Linked DNA regions of Homo sapiens: region 2 is linked to region 1. Evidence: promoter capture Hi-C in 16 types of primary human blood cells and fetal thymus (Javierre and others, 2016). All regions are on one chromosome and are shown on one strand. The core of a region is centred on a gene start or on the middle of the fragment in contact, and the rest is flanking DNA. Distances in the headings are between cores, read along the strand shown. Region 1 holds the start of ATP2B3 (ATPase plasma membrane Ca2+ transporting 3). Region 2 holds the start of DUSP9 (dual specificity phosphatase 9).

Region 1 (6,621 bases), core at 2,160-4,659:
GCCATTTACGTGCACTGCCAGTGCTTCCGGGTGCCCTGAAGGGGCCATGAATGCAGAGCTAAACCGGTCCCTGAGTTGCTGGAGACTGATATAAATCCACCTGTTGTCCATTTCTCTCAGTGGGTAGACGGGGCAGAGGTGCAGGTGGCTCAGCTTCTGAGCTGCAAGGTCTTCCCAAGAATCCCCGGCTTCAGCCCACAAGGCTGGGAGTACCCGAGACAGTGAGTTCACACGAACCACACTCTACTCTGCTGACTTCCGCACACACTTCTGGAGATACAGGAACTAATGGCTACAAGCACAGACCAGACTCCGGAGCCTGATGGACTACATTCCAGCCCTGGATTTGCTACCTACTGGCTGTGTGACCTTGGGCAAGTTACCTAGCCTCTCTGGGCCTCAGCCGCAATGCAAAATGGGGATAACAGCACTTGCAATCATTTGTTGTTGTTTCAATTAAGTGGGCAAGGAAATGTCTGTGCAGCACTCAGTGTCTGACATAAAGTGACTGCCATTATAACTATTATCATTGTTGACATTACTTGATGTGCTACTGACCACTGATGGAGACAGTGGCCATTGGTGAAATACACAAGCCATCAGTTTAAAATCAGAGGGGAGTTCATATGTGCTGATGACTTGCTCTGTGAGGTGGGGGAGGAGGTGAAAAGGCCAGAAGAAGCTCTGCCTGGCTCTGCTGGCTGCAAGAGGCCCAGAGGGTACTCAGCTCTCAGAAGCCCCTGGGGCTCTGGGGCGCCCTCATCCTGTCTACCGGGCAGGCAAGGCGCCCCTTTCCACAAGACATTCTCAGAGGGTCCTCCACGGCTGACCCCGGCACTCCGTGGCTGCATCCCTGGGCTGGGAGCAGACGTTCTGGGATGGAGAGCACTCACTGACTCACAGGCTTGGCTTCTCCTGCTAGTGAATGATTCAACCTCTGAAGCTCCAGCTCCCCCAGGCCCACCCCCACCCTCCCTGGATCTGGAATGGAGAAGGGACTTGGCCAAGGTCACAAAGACCATCAGGTAAGGGGCTGCTGTCACTGAAGCCCCAGGCACCCTCACGAGCCTCCTCTGGCCCCTTCCTTGCCCCTCGGGGGCCGATTGGGGCATCTCCATCACCTGGCATTGTGGCTGTCCCCTGGCATGCTCTTTGCCTTAGGGGCTTCCTTCCTCAGGGACCGGCTCTCCTTCTGGCCCTGTGCAAGGCCCCCTCCCACGCCCGCCCCACTTCCATCTGCCCGTTACCCCCTGCTGTGTGAGAGCATGCCTACTCCTGCACTCAAACCACCTGGCCGTGCAGGGCACGGCCCAGGTGGAGCTGATGGAGACTGGCTGTGTCCTTGGCTGTCCCCCGCCTCGGGGCCTGCAGCAGTGACAATCAATGGCCGGGGACCACAAGTTCCCAGCCCGTTCCGATGGCGCAGACTTGAGGGGCTGACCTCACCCTGGGACCCTCTGCTGGGTCTCAGCTGTGTCCCACAGGGGCCCAGGCATCCCCAGCCCTCTCCTCGGCATCCCAGTGCCCCTTTAATGAGCCACATGGCTTCGGTTTCCTCATCTGTGAAAAGTGGCGGCGGGGGGTGGGGGTTGGGGATGAAAACAGCCATTCACTCGTGTGGTTGAGGTGAGACTCAGATGGAGCTCAGGAAGTGGGGCTGGTCTTTGATTATTACGATAACCTCTCCCCGCCTCCCTGCCCCACCAGGTTCATAGGAATGTCCCTAGCCATCTGCTCATGAAGGAAGGGGCCTCAATTCAGGGCTGAATCCCTTCTCCTCTTGGGGGCCTCAATGATCCCATCTGAAAAATGGGGACAAAAATCCAGGCCTTGCCTCTCCTGTTCAGTGAGTCTGCAGATTCAGTGAGGTCAAGGTCATGAATATGCCATGCAGAAACCAGGTGCCCACTCTGTGCCAGGCCTGTGCAAATGAAGAGCCAGTCCTTGCCTTAAGATGGTCACTGACTAGTGAGGGGCAATGGCAGGGGGTGAGGGCACAGATCCTAGTGGGCAAAGGAGGGGAGGAGGTGCAGGGGGTGCCTGCCAGACTGGTGCCCAAGTCAGCCAGGGGAAGTCGGCTGACGTTTAGGGTGCCAGTGGAATTCAGGATGGGGGCCAGTTGGGGACAGGCTGGACTTGATCCTTTAGCAGGCAGGGACTCCTTTGAGGTCGGAGGCCCTGGGCTTCATCTTTGAAAGTTATATGACCTCGCCAGGAAATGGCAAGCATCTCGTTGAGGAATTCTGGTCCCTTCCCTGCCCCTTGAGTGAGCGAAGGAGCATTTCCACAGTCTCTCCTAAACCCTCATGGAGCCCTCACCGCGGGCTCTCCAAGACTCCCTCCAGTCCTGACCTGCCCCGGCGCCATGCCCCTGCCCTGCCTCCCACCCCTCCTCAGCCGGCTGGCTGAGCCACCAACCCCCAGAAGGGCCAGCAGAAGGAAGGACACCAGGTCACAGAGAGAGAAGCCCATCGTCTCAGGCTCTGGGAGATGCCGCACCTGCCATTCCAAATTCCAGAATCTTAAAGCCAGAGCTTTCACCCGTGAGAAAACGCAGGCGGCCACAGGAAAAGCTGGCTGGCCAAGGTCACACAGGCGAGGAGGGGGAGACAGCCGTTCCTGGAGGGATGGAGAAGTTACCTAAGTGCGGCCCCGGGCGGCTTCTCGTGGGCACTGCCCATGACCGCGGTGGGGTCTGCTGGGCAGCCGCGTGGGCGTGCGGGGAACGGTGCGGGAAGGCGAGAGGGGAAGGATGATACAGTGTGAGGGCGCGGGGGGGAGGGGGTGCCCGAGGCTCCGGGAAGGTGCGTGCGCACTGGCGGGCTCCCGGCCCAGATCCCGCGCCCCCGGCTGCGCCCACCCTGAGCCCCGGCCCGCAGCCCCCAAGGGCCTTGTTCCTCAGACACGGATGCGCGTGCGCGCGCGATGCGGGGCGCAGGGTGCAGGGTGCGGGGCGCTGCCCGCCGGCCTGGGGCCCCGGGGTGACGCGCGGCCGCAGTGCCGCAAGGACACGCAGGCCCGGCGCGGGGCTCAGGTGCCTCGGGCGGGGACCCGTGTCCCCCTACCTGCCGCCGCACCACCTGCCGGGTCATCCTCCCATCCCCACCCGCGCCTTGTGCCCGCGCCGCGCCCGCGCCCACCCCGGCGGCGCCCGCGCGCCCAGAGCACCACTTACCCGGGCATGGGCACGGCCGCCGCCGCGGCCTCGGCTCCGGCGGGCGCTGTCGCTGCGGGCGGGCGTCAGGCGGGCAACGATCCGCTCCAAGGATGGAAAGGCCTGGGCACGGGGCGGCCTGGCCGGCGGCGCGGGACGCGACCCTCTGCGGCGGGCGAGGGCTGCGGCCGAGTGCTCCCCACGCTCTGCACCGGCGGCGGGCGACGCGGCGCGCTCGGCTCCAACCGCAGCTCTGAGCGCGGAGGGAGGGAGGGGGGAGGGGAGGGAGCTGGGTGAGGAGGAGGGAGGGAGGAGGGAGCGGGCGCGGGGGGCGGTGCGCGGCGCAGGGGCCTCGGGGCTCAGGAGCTACGCGCCCGGTGCGCGCCCTTCTGTCCCCAGGACGCGCGAGGGTGCCCGCCCTTCCTGGCCTGGCATTGCCCCCAAAGGGCACTGGCCGAGTGGGGGTGGGTGGGGATGGAAACTGGGGGACCATGGCACCTGTGAGTGCAGAGAGAGCACCCTGAGCTTGCGACTGAGGCTGCCACTACCTCTCCAGACCCTGCCCTCTAGGTGCGTCTCCCCAACAGTAAAATGGGGCACAGAGCCGGGTGGCTGATGTGTAGCGTGGGGTCCTTGGGTCTTGCCTCAGTGGACTCCAAGGCATTGGTGGTCTCCTGCAAACTCCATTACCTGTTGAGAGTACGGGCGTCCAAATGCGTCTTCCCAGAGGAAGCGGCGCTTACCGGAGATCCTCACCGTCGGTTATCACGGGAACACCACCGTTAGGCAGAACACAGAGACTGCACACAGGTGGGCACCAGAGACAGACACGCAGGGGCACATACATCCCCGGTGTGAGTGGAGACAGACACACAGACAAACCCCAGTGCAGACACCTGTCCACACCCACAAGCACGCGTTCCCACCTACCTGGAAAGAGACCCCCGTGCCTGCCGGTGGACCCCCAGGCTTCCCAGCTCCAGGGGCTGTGGAGGCCTCTGACCCCAGGGCCGGCCTTTGCGAGCATTCTGAGCAGCGAGCAGAGAATGCTCGCTGGGGCACAGGTAGAGGCTCTGGGCGGGAGCCTGAGGCAGGTGCAAGAGGCCTGGACGCAGCCTCAAATTCTTTCTTGCCTTGGACAAAGAGGGCCCTGGACATGCTGTGTGCCAGACCAGAGCTGAATACTGGGGACACAGCAGGGACCACAAAGCAGGGAGTGGCCGTCGGATGGCAAATGTGCTCACGCCGCTGGGGTCGGAGCTATGGAACCCCATTGATGGGGAGCCATGAAAGAGGCTGCTGGCGGCTCAGGGAAGGCCTCTTTGAGGAGGCACCACTGTGCTAGGGACCAAAAGGACAGAAAGCTTCTGCTGCCCCTGAGACCAGGGAACCGTCACAACCCCCACAGACTGCCCCTCCCTTCCACAGGAAGCAGCTGGTGCCGTGGAAAGCTGAGGTTCGCGCACGCACGCACACACACACTCATACACCTGGTCATGTGTGCGCTCACACATGCTTACTCACACCCACTCACATGCACGCACACATACTCACACCTGCTCATATGCATGAACTCATGCTCACTCACCTACTTACACAAACACACACTCACACACTCATGCACACACTCACAATCTCACGCAGACACATCCTCACAGTCATATGTGCTCACTCACCCTCACCCACACAAGCTCGGTGGCCCACACAGTTACACAATGGTTCACACATATTTACATGCTCTCACACCTACACAACTCACACACTTACCCAGTGAGCACACACATGGGCACATACATACACACACACTCACACACAGTTACTCACAGTCACACTCACACACACACTCCCCACTCACACTCTCACACATATTCATTTGCACACTCCCGCAGTCCCCTTCCACTCCAACTCTGAGGCAGCTTTTCCTGAGCCTGGGGCGTGTGCTCCTCCGGGCCCAGAGCCGCCATGGGGACACCCCCTTCTCACACACACACAGCCTGTGACTTCCCATGGCCCCGAATGGGAAAAATCAAGACTGAAGCAAGCCCCAATGATGCTGGAAACTTATCATGAGCTAAGTTCTGGCCATTTCGCCAGAGCCCTGCCATCTTGGAGTCGTTCCTCTTACTAGCCCACATTCCAGATGGGGAAGTGGAGGCCCAGAGGGCACTGGATCCCACCCGGAGCAGGTTGTAAGCTGGACTTTGGCCCCTGGCCGGGAGGCCAGCTGCCCCCATGCCCTCAGGCACCACAGGAGGGCAGAGGAGCTCCTTTCCCCAGCGCATTCAGGCCACGTTCCTTCTTGGCCTCCCACACTGTGGCAGGCTCCCTGGGGTCATGTCCTTCCATCCCAGGCCCAAGGGCCCTGCTCTGGAGTGAGCAAAGGCAGAAGCAGGCTGCTGAGCTGGCCTCCTTTCGTGGCCCCCAGCAGGAGCATCCCTTGGGCAAGGGTTGGGTCCCGGCTGAAGACAAGCACCTCTTAGCAGACATGTGTGGGCAGCTCTGGGAGGGCAGGTGTGGGGCTGGGGAGACCCACACTTAAAGGCTTAGGAGTGGCTGTGAGAGCTGACAAGCAAAGAGAAGAGTCCCTTTGGGCTGCGTCACTGTCTTCCCTCGGGGACCAGGGAACATGCTGAGGGATGGAGGCTGTTCATTTAACTGATGGCTGCTATCCACATGGGGGAATCTCCCTGAGCTTGGAGCAGCTGCTGCCTGGGTTGCGTGTTTATGCATCTCCCCTCCCTATTCTCTGACCCCAGACTCTGCACAGGCCCTGTCTGGCCAGGGGGAAGAAGCAAGTTCAGGGGAGAAAATCTGAGGCAGGGGCTACCTGCCCCACCACTTTGCCTCCTCCCCCGGGCCCCCAGGGCACTGCTCATGGCTAATCCAGCCAAGAGTTGGCCATGGTGCCTACCTTTGTGATGAGTCCCACTGAGGCCAAGGTCAGATGGCCAAGGAACAAAGTGTCATGGAAGTCCCTAGTCCTCAGCAAATTGTGGCCCCTAAACAGCTAATGGCCAGGTAAGGGGATGGTCCTTTCTCCTTGGTTTGTGTCTGTTGGTTCCCAGCCCAGAGCCCTGAGGCTGAGAGGGAGGGCCCAGGCCTGGGAATGAGGACACCTGAGTGCCAGGCAAATGCTGCCAGTGTCACTGGTGATCCTTGCTCACCGGCCAGCCCCTCTTGGGTCCTCCATCAGTAAAGAGGTGGGAGCTTTGCTAGAAAGTTCTCCCATACACCAAGTCCTGTCCTCTGCACTGGGAGTACTTAGGGAGCCAAACCCAGGGAGGCCCAGACCACTCTGCTTCCCAGCTCCCTCCCAGGTCCCAAGCCAGCCTGTCCCACCATGCCCTGGACCTGCCTCCTTAGGGCACGCCAGGCCTCCGTCCCCACCCCACTCTCCCACATTGCCGACGACTGCCTGGGAAACAAAAGCCACAGAGAGCACCCTGCTCTCAGCGGCTGCCCACCGC
Region 2 (6,621 bases), core at 2,712-5,211, 130 kb before region 1:
GCATGTGTGTGTGAGCGCCGACACGTGCGCACACACAAGCACACACACGCACACCCGCCACCCACAGGGGTGTGGACAGAAATGAATGACTGTGTGTGTCTGCAGCTTGGCCCCTTCCCCACCCCCCAAAGTAGCAGCGGCTGTGTGGGCCCCGCAGCAGCAAAAGTGAGGCCTTCTTCTTCCCCTCCCCCTCCGCAGCTCTCGCTCTGAGACCCCATCTCCTCCGGCGGTAGTTTGGCCACCCTCACTCACAAAGAGCCCCAGTGATCCCGTCAAGACATCTGGGGGAAGAGGAAAAAAAAAAAACAAAACAGCCCACCAGATGTGTGGCCGGGAACCTGCCCAGTAGCTCCTAGGCCATGGATGTGGGCGGCCACTGCACTCTGGGTCCCCATCCCCTGGGAGGCCCCAGCCCCGAGAGGCCCAAGCCCTTGGTGGAGAAACAGGGAGGTGACAACACCAGTGATGGCAAACGCCTCTCCCCCAAGCAGCCACTGGGATCCAGTGCAACGAGGTGGCACACACCCTTCCTGAAGGGGGAAGCGCAGGGAGGCGCAGGGCCTAGCCGAGCTGGCTGAGCACCCAGGGCCGGGACCTGGGCCTGGACAACCACCTGGAGAGGGAACCCCCACCCCCATCCCGCAAAGAAAAAGTAACAGTCGCAGAAGAGGCAGGCTCCGAGCGTGGTCCCGCCATAGGCACGTTGATTAGGACGGCAGCCCGCGTGAGGTATTGCGCTCTCCCCCCAGCACCCTGCTCAGGCCGAGCCCTCCTGCCCTCCCCTCCCTTGCCACACGAGTGGGCAGGGACACCCGTGGGTGGGGGTGGGGCAGGGGCCGGCCTGCCGGCCACGGGGCCCTAGGTGGGGGCCAGCTCGAAGGCGCCATCACTGGTGGGGGTGGTGAAGAAGGAGGGCGGGTTGGAGGCCGCAGATGCCTGCCCCCCACTGCCCTGCTCCTGCGAGTGGCGCTCCTCCAGCCGCAAGCTGCGCTCAAAGTCCAGCAACTGCCCCATGAAGTTGAAGTTGGGGGAGATGTTAGACTTCTTCCTCTTGACCAGGTCATAGGCATCGTTGAGAGAGAGGTGGAGCTTCTGCATGAGGTAGGCCACAGTGACGGTGACAGAACGGCTGACCCCCGCCAAGCAGTGGACGAGCACCCCGCAGTTCTGGGACAAGGCCTCATCTAGATGGGGCAGGAAAGGGCCCGGGAGACCCGGAGGGCAGGCGTGTGTGAGGCCGAGGCCTTCCGAAGGGCCCTCAAAGGCCCCGCCCTGCCCCCTGGGCCAGATGGCCACGACCTGCAGGTTTCTCTAGTGGCCTCTGGGGGCCGCCCTAGCTCTGCCTGTCCCCTAGAACTGTCACCTAGGCTTTTGGCTCTGGGAATGGCAGCGGGGCTTGGGAGGAGTACTCACAAGGGGGAGGCCAGAGCAGGCCTTGGGGAGGACAGGAGGGAAGGGTGGGTGGGGTGGACTCACCAATGAACTCAATGGCCTCCGGAAAGAACCGCGACAGGTTCTGGCTCCAGTGGTCGGAGATGGGGATCTGCTTGTAGTGAAAGTCACCATTCTTCTCGAAGAAGTTTGGGAGGTTGGGGGTGACATTGAGGATGTAGCGGATGCCCAGTTTGGCCAGGCTCTCCAAATTGGCGGAATCCCGGGCACTGCCCAGATAGAGGTTGGGCAGGATCTGGACAGGGAAGGATGCCCGCAGCCCCACTGGTGGGGGTGTGGCACCCTCCGAATCCAGGCCACAGCTCATGGAGTCGCGGTCAGCCTCGGATTCCGCATCAGAGCAGTCGGAGCCCAGGCACAGGCTGCCCAACCCCACCACGGGCACTGGACCGGGCACCGGCGCCATGCTGGAGCCGGCACGGCCAGCAAGGCTGGTCTCACACAGGTGAGGGCACTCGGCCTGGAATCTGCTGAAGCCTCCTGTTGGGGAGAGGGCATGGGGCCTGCTGACCTGGCCTTCTGGGCAGCCAAGTGCCTCTGTCTGGGGCTGGGGAGATGACCCTGGACAACTTGGAGGGTTTGCAAATGTTCCCAAAGGGAACACAAAACCCAGCAGCTTGGTGTGTCCTGGTACCCACGTGGGGCCCTAGCCACCCTCAGTCAGCTCGGGCTGCAAGAAGCTGGGCTCACGCTGAGCCACCGGAAAGGATCTTACACCCCTAGGGTCAAGCTGAGGCAGGTGTGAGGGCTCAACAGAGCCGAGATGCACTGCCAGCCTTAGGGAGGACTGCGGCCATCAGCTAAAGAAAAGGAGGAACTCAGATGTCAGCTCTCTGCCTGGGCATCTCCTGACTCTCAGGGATGAAGTGGGACCCCAAGATGTGGGGGAACTTGGGGGAGAATATGGCTCAAGAAGCCAGCATCTCTATTTACAGATACTATTTCCCCGGGCTGGACACCTGACACTTTATATGCTGTTCGGGAGGCTAAGGCAGGAGGATCGCTTGAGCCCAGGAGGCTTCAGTGAGCCGTGATTGCACCAGTGCTGTCTGACCCCTGCCTCCCTTGCTCATTCCTGAGCAGGTTGGGGAGGTGGGGATACCCTTGCCGAGACCCTGGGGAGCCCGCACTTTGTAATTCGTTCTTGAGCATCCTGAGAACTAGCTCAGGTCAGGCTAATTCTCCCCATTTTCCAGGCTCAGAGACTGGGCTGCCGAGGGTGAAGAACTTCCCCACGGTCACACTCAGGCTTCCCTCCTCTCAAAGCAGCCTGGCAGGTCATCAGGGGAGGGGGGCCTCAACTCGCTTTAGAAAAAAAGAAGTGGGGCTGGCCTAAGGTCAAATGAATCCCGAACCCCCTGGAAGGAGGGCCCCGCGGCACCTACCCTGGAGGTAGTAGGCCAGGTAGCCTTCCTCTCGCAGCTTCTGCAGCAGGGTGCCCAGCACCGACTCGGCCTCCCACTCCTCGGCCTCGGCCTCGGCCTCCCCGCGCCGGCGCCGGCCCCCGCCCTGGTCGTACAGGAGCACGGGGGCAGGCGGGGGCGGCTGCAGCGGCGGCCCAGGCAGGAGCGCGCGCACCGACAGGCTGCCCCTCCGCAGGCGGCGCAGCAGGAGCGCCGGCAGGGCCACGCTCAGCGCCCCACCGATGCGCGCCGACTCGTACAGCTCGCGGCTGCGGCAGTCCAGGAGCAGGAGCCGCGGCCGCGGGGGCGACAGCTCCCGACGCAGCCACAGGCACGAGCGGCCCAGACCCTCCATGGGCGATCGGCTCCCTACACGCTGGACCACGGGCGCTGCGAAGAGAGAGAAGGCGCGGTGTGAGCTACCGGAGGGCCGAGGGGGCTCAGACTTGAAGCCGGCCCCGCGTCCTGAAGGCGGGAGCCCAGGGTCCCCCACCATGAGGACTCCCAACAAGGCGCCCCAAGAAACCCCCCAGGCAGCAGCTCGGCCCGGGGAAGGGTCCTCGAGAAGAGGGCTGAGCGGCTAACCGCCCCTTCGAGGCTCATCTTGGGGTACCCTGAGGTCGCAGCCGCCTCCCTCCATACCCCCTTTCTGCTCCTGTCTCGGTCTTCTCGCGAACGCTCCCCAAGTTCGAGCTTCCGACTCTGGCTGGGGGTGTGCGTGCGAGGAGTGCCGTTCGAGGCCTAGATCTCCCCCAGGGCCAGGTGGGCCAGGGGAACAGAGGAGGCGCCGAGGTGCTGGGCCTCAGCGAGTCCTCTCAGAGGTGGTCTGGCCCCCGGTCCCCCATCTCCCCCTACCCCTAGGAGAGAACAAAAGGAAAGAGACCTGGAGCGAGATCCGGCGGTGGACGACCGCGCGTGGACGTTCTGGCCACGGCCACTGCCACGGCGGAACGCGAGGCGCCGTCCCGCGGCAGAGAGTCCCCAGGCCTGGCCGCCAGGAGAGGGCGGGGCGGCGGTGCAGGCTCGCACGTGGAAGCCGAGCCCCGCGCAGCCCGCGCAGCCCGCGCACCGGCCGCTTCCTGGCAGCCGGACCCAGCTTCCACCTTGGAAACTGCCTTCGGACGTGGAGTTACAACTCCGAGGGGCGGGCCGGGGCGGGGCTCCGGGGGCGGGCCCGGCGGGCCGGTGAGCCAACGGGTGCTAGCCGAAGCAGTCGGGTGGGACCTGCGAGTCGGCTGAGCTGGGGCTTCCACCGAGGCGGGACGGGGTCGGGGCAGAGGCCAAGGGCAGGTCAGGGGCCCAGCAGGGGACCAGCTGCGGCTCCCCTGGCCGGCGCCAGCCTGGCCTCGGGAGGCAGGGGGAGGGGTGAGGACCAGAGCCCAGCCCCTCTGCCGCAGAAGCTGCCTCCAGCCCAACTCACAGGGTGATACTGGAGCATCTTCTCCCCTGCCTGGATCTCAGTGGCCCCATCTCTGTAATGGGCTCAGAGCTAGCAGCTTGGGCAAACTTGGGATGCCACCGAAATCACGGAGGGGAGGAGGAGGCAGGACCAGAAACTTAGTGCAGCTTTGGCCCAGAGGTCTGCTGCAGGGCTAGGCAGGCAGGGGTAGCTCCTGGATACCTACCAATACCAGCCCGCTTCACTCGCACAGGACTGGCCAAAAGCACCCAGGAACCCTGAGCTCCCAGCCCTAAACTGGGGCACTCTGCTCTTATCACATTACTGATCCTAAGAGTCACCCGTGGCTCCCCCCTCTGCCTCCTTCCCTTAACCCCCCTTCGGCTAATCAAAGTGGAAAGAACTAGTTTCTACCTAAATATCTCTCACATCCACGCCTCTCTCCCCTGTCCCTTGCCCTAGCCGAGGGCTCAAATTCATCAGCTTTAGGCCAGGTCACTGTCACGTCTTGCACAACAGTCTCCCTGCCTCCGGGCCTGCAACGACCTGCCCTCCACCCTGCCCTGCCCAGCCCTGCCCAACGTCAGAATGCCATCCACTCAACCAAGGCTGGTGGCCTCCATCCTTTCCTCCATGGGCACAACAGGCGGGACAGATCCACAGGCAGCAAGAGCACTGGACAAGGTCTCAGGTGTGGTGAGCACTGAGGCAGGAGACCAGGGTCAGGGGGAGGTGTCCACAATGCTGATCTGGCTAAAAGTCCCTTCTCTGCTTAAAGCTCAACAAAAGCAAATAACAGTGTTGAAGGAAAATGTACGCCAGATAAGATAAAGCTCATACCCAACTAAAAGGTTAAGACCCCTGTAGATAAATGGGCAAAGAACCTGAAAACACTGCATACTGCAGGAAGGAGGGAATGCGGTGGCCTAACAAATATTTGGGGGAAGGTTCAACTTCAGGCGTGGAAGGAAAGCCACTCCAATAAACAAGTAACAATGACCAACGAGGTAACACTTCCCACCTACTGCATTAGAAATGTTCTCATTTTTGAGAACACGCAGTGCTGGCAAGATTGCTGTGAAATCAGCGTGCTGTTCAACTGTTGCAGGGTTATATATTGGTACGGCCCCTTTGGAAATTAATCTGGCAATATCAAGAGCTAGGAAAAAATCCCAACCCTTTGACCACTTTTGGGAATCTAAGGAACTAAAGTAAAAGAAAGCAAAGTTATGCACACGAGGATGGGCACCACAAAGCATTTTTCTAACAAGTGGAAAATGCAAAGCAAACTACGAGTCTAAAGACTCCTCTCAGGAGCCATGGAGTTAGAGGAGAAAATGTCTCAGGTCATGGTTAGGTAAGAGGGCAGGTGACGGAAAGCTAGGTGGGTCACCTCTAAGGGGCTTCCAGTTTGCCTCTCTCCCTCCCTTTCGGGCAGTGGGCTGCTAGCCGGGGACTCCCAGGACCCTGGCACTGGGCTGCTTTCCGGCCACACCCCCCATGTCCCTGCGTCTAACAAGAGTCCTAATTCCTGCATCCAAGGGCTTTGGGCAGCTGGACTGTGCCCTTCCTTCTCTCACCCAGTGGGCAAGGGCCCCAGCCCAGGCCTCCCTCCTATGCCCCCTGCCCAGATTCTGAGATTCTGCTCATTCTTCAGGCCCCCTCCTCCAGGCAGCCTTCCCAACTCGGAGCCAGTAGTCTCCCTCCTCTGTGCTCCCTAGTGTGGTCACTTTCCCCCTTTCTCAGTGTGTTCCTGGGGCAGGGACTTTGTCTTCTGTTTTCTGTCCACAGCCTAGCTCCACAGTGGTGGAGGTGGACACCGGCACCCAGCCTGGGGGCTGCCTCCAGGCCCACTGCAGCTGTGGGTGGGAGCTCAGAGTGGGCAGGGGTTGAAGGCACCACGGAGGTTCTGCCATGTGCCAGTCTTGTTGTGGAGAGTGGGGGTGGCGCAGGGCTGTGACCAGCAGGGAGCTGGACAGCCACTTCCCCGGCCCGCCCTGCCGTGGGGGCTCAGTTCGGCTAGAGAGGGAGCTCCTGAGCTGCTCAGTGGCGCTCTCTGGAGAGGGTTCCCTGGAGGTGAGAGGAGCTGGGCTGGAATGAGGACGGGGAGAGGCAACCTCCGCAATGGGGAAGGGAGGGGAAGCCTAGGATCCAAGGGTCCACGTCTCCCGACGCTTGGCGAGGGGCTCCCCTGCACCTAACTGCGGAGCCCTGCTGCCAAGTCCTCGCACCGGGAGAAAGCATTTGGGAGGAGGCCATGAGGGGCTCAATTTCCAAAGTCAGAGCTCAGTGCTCGGGGCCCACAGCGCCCGCAGCGCCAGCAACAGGACAAATGGGAACCTGTTGCCACCTCCGCACTGCAGGGCT

What was found. The method cuts DNA at HindIII sites, captures the fragments that hold promoters and counts their contacts. A CHiCAGO score of 5 or more calls a contact.
Region 2: the fragment with the promoter of DUSP9 here is called in contact with the fragment with the promoter of ATP2B3 in region 1 in 5 of 17 cell types (M1 macrophages, erythroblasts, M0 macrophages and 2 more); the score reaches 6.9 in M1 macrophages.

The regions. Positions count from the first base shown.
Region 1 is chrX:153,514,430-153,521,050 of GRCh38, reverse strand. ATP2B3 (ATPase plasma membrane Ca2+ transporting 3) reads right to left here and starts at 3,409. Exons shown (of 22, transcript NM_001001344.3): 1 at 3,176-3,409; 2 at 2,500-2,619. The HindIII fragment of the contact is 7,787 bases long and covers 1-4,520 here.
Region 2 is chrX:153,644,543-153,651,163 of GRCh38, reverse strand. It overlaps DUSP9 (dual specificity phosphatase 9), which reads right to left and starts at 3,961. Exons shown (of 4, transcript NM_001318503.2): 1 at 3,739-3,961; 2 at 2,838-3,245; 3 at 1,477-1,932; 4 at 1-1,184. The coding sequence starts at 3,210. The coding sequence ends at 859. The HindIII fragment of the contact is 18,543 bases long and covers 1-6,621 here.